Linked DNA regions of Homo sapiens: region 2 is linked to region 1. The links are contacts of gene promoters, found by promoter capture Hi-C in human tissues and cell types (Jung and others, 2019). All regions are on one chromosome and are shown on one strand. The core of a region is centred on a gene start or on the middle of the fragment in contact, and the rest is flanking DNA. Distances in the headings are between cores, read along the strand shown. Region 1 holds the start of BHMT2 (betaine--homocysteine S-methyltransferase 2). Region 2 overlaps HOMER1 (homer scaffold protein 1).

Evidence for each region. The method cuts DNA at HindIII sites, captures the fragments that hold promoters and counts their contacts. A contact is called where the count stands out against the background at its distance.
Region 2: a fragment that was not itself captured here is called in contact with the fragment with the promoter of BHMT2 in region 1 in 1 of the 25 tissues and cell types used here (dorsolateral prefrontal cortex).

The regions. Positions count from the first base shown.
Region 1 is chr5:79,067,603-79,071,701 of GRCh38, forward strand. It overlaps BHMT2 (betaine--homocysteine S-methyltransferase 2), which reads left to right and starts at 2,165. Exons shown (of 8, transcript NM_017614.5): 1 at 2,165-2,213. The coding sequence starts at 2,181. DMGDH (dimethylglycine dehydrogenase) reads right to left here and starts at 2,072. Exons shown (of 16, transcript NM_013391.3): 1 at 1,918-2,072. The coding sequence starts at 2,018. The HindIII fragment of the contact is 19,729 bases long and covers 1-4,099 here.
Region 2 is chr5:79,404,206-79,408,310 of GRCh38, forward strand. The region is part of intron 5 of HOMER1 (homer scaffold protein 1); the gene reads right to left. Among named protein-coding and RNA genes, the nearest start is that of HOMER1, 110 kb to the right of the region's middle. The HindIII fragment of the contact is 6,465 bases long and covers 1-4,105 here.

The DNA of each region.
Region 1 (4,099 bases), core at 915-3,414:
ATATGATAAAGCATTATCAAATATATAGTATTTCCTCGGCCCAGCATGCCATAATAGGTTTCAGACTAGGTATAGTGTTTTTGATTATGTGGATAACTATCTTAAAATCCTTCTGAATGTAGTCGAGGATGTTTATAAGAGTATTTGAAATAAAACTTAGGAGCCATGCAAAAAACCCAGGTCAGTTATCTTCTGTATTAGAAATGATAAGCACAAACTGTATGCTTGTTCAACTGCTTTCCAAAATAAAACATTTTTTGATAGTTTGAAATTGGGTATATAAAGAATATGCAATTGAAATAACTCAACTTTTGGGTGTTTTTGTTTTTGTTTGTGAGATGGAATCCCTGTCGCCCAGGCTGGAGTGCAGTGGTGCAATCTCGGTTCTCACTGCAGTCTCCGCCTCCCAGGTTCAAGCGATTCTCCCGCCTCAGCCTCCCAAGCAGCTTGGACTACAGGTGCACACCATGACACCCAGTTAATTTTTGCATTTTTATTAGAGACAGAGTTTCACCATGTTGATCAGGCTGGTCTCAAACTCCTGGCCTCAAGTAATCTGCCCACCTCAGCTTCCCAAAGTGCTGAGATTACAGGCATGAGCCACCACACTCAGCCAAAATATGAATTTTTTGGATAGTCTTGAAATTTGTATCTTATTTATCTAATCAGTTTGTTTGTTAAATTTCCATTTTATTTTGCACTGGATTAAAAACATCATTATTATAAATATTTTTGCATTGCTTTACAATTTACAAAGCACTTTCACATGCATTCTCTTATTTAATATTCACAGCAATCCTGTGAGTTATATAGAGCAAAATTAGTATCCTCATTTTATAGATGAGGAAACTGAACCTCAGAAGTGTAAGGTCACATTCTGTGTAACAGATGGCGCAGGAACTGTGAGTTGGTGGCTACTGCATTCCCAGTACTGGAGACAAACCTAGCACATCACAACACCCAGTAAATATTTGTTGAATGGATAGATGGAACTCAAAAGCAGGTCTTCTGATTCCAGAATTTCAGGTCATAGGACATAAAATAAAATTCGAATCAACTCATAATAATGTTGAGTGATGCTGATAAACAAGCCTTTCCTGGCAACCAGGAATAATCTACAAATATAAGAAGTCGAAAGATGTTCAGCATTGCTCATATTTAAATACAGACCAATCAAAACAAGGACATGCCATTTTTACCTATCAGATTTAGCAAAGATAACAAAATGGGCTATTCTGGGAACCAGGGAAGATGTGGGAAACAGACACACACTGGTGTGCCGCATGCAAACTCTTGCCACCCACTTGGAGAATGTGTTGCTGTCTTTCAATCTTTCAGATGCACGTAACCTTTTCCCTAACAAGTTCACCTTTAAAAACTGTTGCTACCGACTCCCATATGTACTCAAAGATAGATGCCTAAGAATTTTCACATGCACGTTATTTGCAGTAATAAACAACCAAAAACCATTTAAATGTTAATGAATAGACTAACGATAGTGTAGAATATTGACAGGATGGAAAACTATGCAGCCATTAAAAGGAACAAGGCAAGTCAGTGTGTGCTGATATGGAACAATCTCCAAGATATATTGATAATTGTAAAAAGCAAGATGTCAAAAAGCCAAAGGAAAACCTATACTGACCTGTGTTTGCCTATGCGTAGACTGTCTCTGGTTAGATTCAGAAGACACTATTAACAATTGTTCACTGGCCAAGGGGATTGGGGCAGGAGAGACTTTACACGGGGAACCTTTGGATACTGTTTCACTTTATAATTAAAAGATAATTCGAGAAGATATATCAAGGCCTATTTCTTGGAGGCCAGAGCGCTCCTAACCCCTGAGCCTGCCTCAGCCTCTGGCTCCCACCCCCGCAGCCGCCCCGTCGCCTCTGAGCAGGACGGGGCCCCACTCACCCTTCCCGGCCGCAGACAGAGCGCGGGCGCCCGGGGGAGCCCTGCAGCGGGCAGCTCCGCAGCAGGAGGCCCCGCAGCAGCTGCGCGCCGGGACGGAGCATGACTAGGCCGAGGCCGAGGGCGCAGGCGCCTGCTCCGAGGCCAGCGGGCAGCCTGAGGCCGCGGGGCCGGCGGGGCGGGGGTCGGATCCTCCCCCCGGGCTGGGGGCGGGCTCCTAGACGGCCGCGCGCCCGGGAACCCGGCGCCCACAGAGCCGCGGCACCATGGCACCTGCTGGACGCCCGGGGGCCAAGAAGGTGAGTTTCGTCCCCTCGATCCTCGCGGAGCTCCTGGCCGCTGGGCTGCGAGCGACTCCGTTCACACCCGGCGTCCATCCCTAGCCAAGCCCTGGGGCCTCGGCAAAACACTTGGACGGGATGGCCCTGAGCCTCAATTTTCCCCTGTCACGGGTTGGTTAGCGTTTATGGAGCCCTTACTCGGTGCCTGGCGCTGCACAGAGTGCTGTGCTCAAGTTATCTCCTCATCTTCACAATTATCCCCATTTCACAGGTGAGGAAACTGAGGCTCGGCGAGTCAGGCGACTAGCTCAGGGTCACGGGTCCAGCCCCGCGGGGAGCGAGGATCAGAAGTCTAGCTTTCGGACGCATGTCGCGCACACATTTTCTTCCCTCAACCGACCCTCGCCCGCAGCTCTTTGGGCTAATCCGTCCGGGAACTCTTCGGACTGTCCCCTCGCGTTTTGGAAAAGTCAGCAGCCTGGCCAAGCAGCCTGGCCTTGCGAGTCGCCGGCTGGTCTGAAACTAGTCCTGGGCAAGGACGCCCCCAGAGCTGCGGTGCAGGGTGGAGGGTAGGTGGGATTCGCTAGCACCCCTCAACCTCCTCTCACCCGGTGGTCCCCAGCTCCTGGCCCCTTTCCTGGTCTGGTCACCAGATGTTGGCTTTATGCCCAGCCATTTCTACGTCGAGTATGTGTGGGGGTGGGATGAAGGAGTGACTAAGCAAAATTAGGAAGGGCATGAGCTTGGACGAAAGACATCCCCAGGACCCTTCAGAGACCCCCACCCGCTCCAGCCCTGTCATTCAGAATGGGAGGAAGGGAGGAGGGGCAGTTTATGCGTGGAAATGTGCACCACCGAGCTATTTATACTAAAAAGTTAGAAACGACCAAGATACTCTGCAATACGGGATTCTAAATAAATTAAGGTTCATCTACTTAAGTTATTAGACAGTTAAATAACTTAGTATGAGAACCAGCTAAGTGCCTTGGCAATGTTAAGTTGCAAAAGGAAATATATCACAAACTGATCCCAACCATATACAAATATTTATATACACACTGTAAGGAAGGACACAATAATGGTAATAGTTACACAAGATGTGGAATATTGGTTTAAAAAGCATGTTTTAGGATATTTTTTCAGGTTATAAAAGCAAAATGTGAGCATTGAAAGAATACAGTTAATAAAAATAATCAAAGAACATTGTGCTTTTTTCTCTCAACTTTCTCTAATGCTATGTTCATCTTTACAGTTCATATTTTTAAACGTTTTTAAAATGCCCTGTTTTTGTTCAGTGTCTTTGGGGCCTCTACTGTTACAACACCAAGATTATCACACACTAATCCATGTGAATGTGTACCTGGGAGTTAAGGTGTTAATGGGAAGGAACTAATCTCACCTCTCTCCTCAGCTAGCAGGTACATTTTAAGAATTCATTTAATTGCCACAGACAAGACCTCCAATTAGGTCTTAAATCCAAAAGAGCAGTTCTGCTGGCAAATCTAGGAAAAGGGGAAGTTATTTTAGACAGACTGGGTTTTTCTGATCACCTCCTACTACACAGTGAAGTTGATCCCCACTGAGTATGAATAGAGATGTCTTGAAGCCAGATCTTAAACCCAGAGGTCTTACGTAGTGATATCTGCAAAAAGGGGGCATAAATGCACCCTAGAGCTCGCTGTCAGATGCAAGGCAGGTTCACTGCCAAACTGATGGGGAGGAGGGAATGAAAATATAAATGTACTGCAAAATTAATTTACAGGGTTCCTTATTTTACATGTTCCTGTCTTTATAATTTTACAGTTGACTTTAGATCGTACTAGTATAATGGTGAGGAACAACACACACTGGGGCCTATCGAAGGGTGGAGGGTGGAAGGAGGGAGAGGATCAGGAAAAATAACT
Region 2 (4,105 bases), core at 371-2,870, 340 kb after region 1:
TATTTACTCCTAAAATCCATTTGTCAAAATCACACAATTATAAAGTAAAATGGATTACCACATATTTATAGCAGGAGAAATAATTTTAAAATGAGGGTGTTTTTCTATTATATTTATGTGGGTTTTATTTTATAGTCACTAGACAGTAAAATCCATCAAGCATTTTATAACTGCTTACATCACAAGTATTCAGTAATTATCTGGGTAACCTCGGACCCAACACTCAAGCACTTTGGTTCTCAGTTCTTTATATGTCAAATAAATAGATCAGTCAAGATCTGTATTATCCAAATATTAGCATGTGGCTATTTAAATGTAATACTTCAAAATTAAAGTAAAAAATTCAGCTTTGAATTTGAGACACATTTCATGCACTCAACAGCCACACATGACTGGTGGCTACTACCCTGGACAGCAAAGATAACAGAACATTTCATCATGACAAAAAGTTCTACTGAACAGTACTGTTCAAGAGGATCTTGACATTCTGCCTTTTCTTTCTTTCTTTCTTTCTTTGAGATGGAGTTTCGCTCTTGTTGCCCAGGCTGGAGTGCAATGGCACAATCTCAGCTCATGCAACCTCCGCCTTCCAGGTTCAAGCGATTCTCCTGCCTCAGCCTCCCAAGTAGCTGGGAGGTGCCCACCACCACGCCCAGCTATTTTTTTTTTTTTTTAATATTTTTAGTAGAGATAGGGTTTCACCATGTTGGCCAGGCTGGTCGCTAACTCCTGACCTCAGGTGATCCACCCGCCTCGGCCTTCCAAAGTGCTGGGATTACAGGCATGAGCCATCGTGCCCGGTCCTGATTGCCTCTTCGATTCTGTGCGTGAGGCTGAACTGTGTCCCTCCAAAACTCATATATTGAAGTTCTAACTCCCAGGATCTCACAGTATGACTGTATTTGGAGACAGAGTCTTTAAAGAGGTAATTAAGGTTTAATGTGGTCATTAGGGTGGGCCATAATCCAGTATAAATGGTGTCCTTACAAGAGGAGGGGATTAGGACACAGACACACGAACATAAAAAGAGACGACAGCCATCTACAAGACGAGGAGAGAGGCCTCGGAAGAAATGACCCTGCAGACGCCTTGATCTCAGACTTCTAGCCTCCAGAACTATGAGAAAATAGATTTCTATAGTTTAAGCCATGCAGTCTACAGCATTTTTTAGGACAACTCAAGCAAACTAATAAACATAATTTTTTAAACCCACATTATGTAACCTATCAATTTGCCCCATCTTCCTGAATTGAAGTACATGGATTATATTTCCTGTTCTAATCAAGCTGGCTTTTCTGTGATGAGCTCTTCTTCTCAATCAGATTCTCATTTTTTTCTATGAATTTTTGTCCAATTTTTTCTATATTCAGAATCTATCAGATTGCATTTTTTCCTTTCATTGATTCAAGTTTTCTCCAACAAGTATTTTCCAGTTATTACACCCATCCTTTCACTTACCAGCAAAACCTGGTGCTTGCCAATCTGTGCAAGCTTAGTCAATGCACTAAATGAAAAGTAAAGGTATTCACTATGAAATAAGTGCAAGGCTAACCTCAGATCAAATCAATTAATGAGTAGTAAATTTTATAACACTAATTTTAATAAAACTTTCAACACTAATAAAAACCTCAAATATAAATATTTTAGCTCTCACATCAGGGATGGAATTTCACACTAGTTTTGGGTAGTAGAATCATATGGAGTTTCTTGACTCCCATTTTAAACTTATCAGGCATGCATATACGGTAACAGGGATTTCATCTATAAAACACTGTAGACCTGGAACATGGAGAATCTACAACAAACCTGTTTAAGAAAAGGTTGGTATTCCTGAACTAGTTGCCTTGTTTTGGCGTAATTTACAAGTTAATACCGATTGGCAGAAGTACTTTTTATATGAGTAGTCTAGGTAGTTATAACACCACATCAATTATTTTAAAACGCTTGACTGTTGAAATATATGTTTAGAGTAGGTTACTAGATTCTTCAAATTCATCCTAGCATTATCCAGTATTTTCATATTTGGTTGGTATTTAGACCCAAGGAAGCTCAAGTTTAAGATACAACTCTGGTAAAATCTTGAAATATACTATACGTTAATGATAAAATCTAGGTAAGTGTAATCATTTTATTTTCTACCTGTATCAAGAAGATAACTTCACAATTTCATGTTTGGAGTGGTACTTATGAGCAAGATGGCTACCACAAGCATTTCTAAGGCTCTTGGGAGCCAGAGATACAAAAGGGAATTTGTACCGTCTTGCAGGCTCTTTACCACAGACTTCTATCAGGTTCTCAGGAGAAAGATTGGAGAGGCAGAGAGAGAGACTAGAGAAAGGATCCTGGATGAGGGGAGAGACTTCCATTTGGGAAATTCACAAAGTCTAGCCAAGACCCTTCTTCTCCACAGGACCAAAATCTTAAACCAATGGGAGAAGGATACCCCTAAATCCTGTCATTCTCCCACTTAACCTGGATTCAGGTGAAGACCTGTTATGGCTGGGGGCAAAGAGAATAAAACACTGTAACTCTGTGAGAGGAACAGAAAATAGTCCTGGATTCAGAGGTCTCTAACCTGTGGGACAGAGGCAGGAAACTCCTACACAAGACTCTCAACTATCACAAGGCTGAATTTACCTGTTACTGGGAGAGGGGCAGGATCACTGAGAAAGCCTCATTTCTGAGATCCTGGGACAAAGGGTCTACCCAAGACTGAGGCTGGACAAAAACAACAGAGAACCCCATTCTGTCGTCTATTATAGCAGCCTTCCACTGCAGGAAGGTCAAGACTGTAGAGACAGACCTTCTTTGAGGTGTGCACACACACAAAAAAAGACCAAAAGATGAGTGTCGAGCAGTGAGTAGAACCCTCTAGCAATCCTAAGCACAAGGTAATGCTAGAGATGTTTAAAGGCTATAGCATACTCATAGTAACCATACCAACAACAAAATCAAAATCCCTTTCAACCCCCAAATGGACTAACTTTCATAATAACAGCCTAGCAGAAGAGTCATACCCATTTCTAGGAGGAAATAGTGTTCATCATTACTGTCCTCCACACAATGTTTAGCATTCAATGAAAAAAAAAATTACAAGATGTATCAAAAAGCAAGAAAAAAAAAACACTCCTCACTGTCAAGAAAGAAAGCAATCAACAGAATCATACTCAGAGATTAATCTGATCTTGATCTTGAATAAATCAAGGAAGTAAGATAGCAATGTTAAAGGTGTTAGTGGAAAGAAGGACATCACGTTCACTCAGATTGTGAATTTTAGCAGAGCAATGAAAACTATGGGAAAGAACCCAACAGAAATGTTAGAAATACAGAACATAACAACAGAGGTGAAGAATGCCTTTGACAGGCTCAGTGAACTTGACACAGCTGCATAAAGTCGGTGAACATGGAAACAGATCAAGAGAAATCAGCCAAACTGAAACACAAAGAGAAAAAAGAAAAAGAGTTTCTAAGATATGAAGGGCCATGTAAACTGTCTAACAAATGTTTAACTAGAATCATAGAAGGAGAAGAGAGAAGGGCAGAGGAAATATCTGAAGACATAAAGGCTGAGTATTTTCAAAAAATAAAAGACATGAAACCACAGATGCAAAAAGTACAAGAACATATTATACATAGAGGAACAAAAATAACAATTACAGTAGCTCCTTATTCATTGTTTCTCTTTCTGTGGTTCCAGTTACACATGGTCAACTATAGTCTGAAAATATTACAGTATGATAAAATATTTTGAGAGAGGGAGAGACCACATTCACATAACTTTTATTACAGTATATTCCTATAATTGTCCTATTTTATTATTAGTTCATGTTGTTAATCTCTTACTGTGCCTACTGTAGAAATTAAACTTTATCACAGGTATGTATCTACAGAAAAAAACATAAACATAAACCCTACATATAGGGTTCACTACTATCCATGGTTTCAGGCATCCACTGGGAGTATGCAATATATCCCCTGTGGTTAAGGAGGGACTACTGCATAGTAATACTTCATCACAGATGATGCAATCCAGAAGACAGTGGAGTGACAGTGTTGAAAGAAAACAATCCTCATCCTAGAATTCTACACATAGGAAAAATATCTT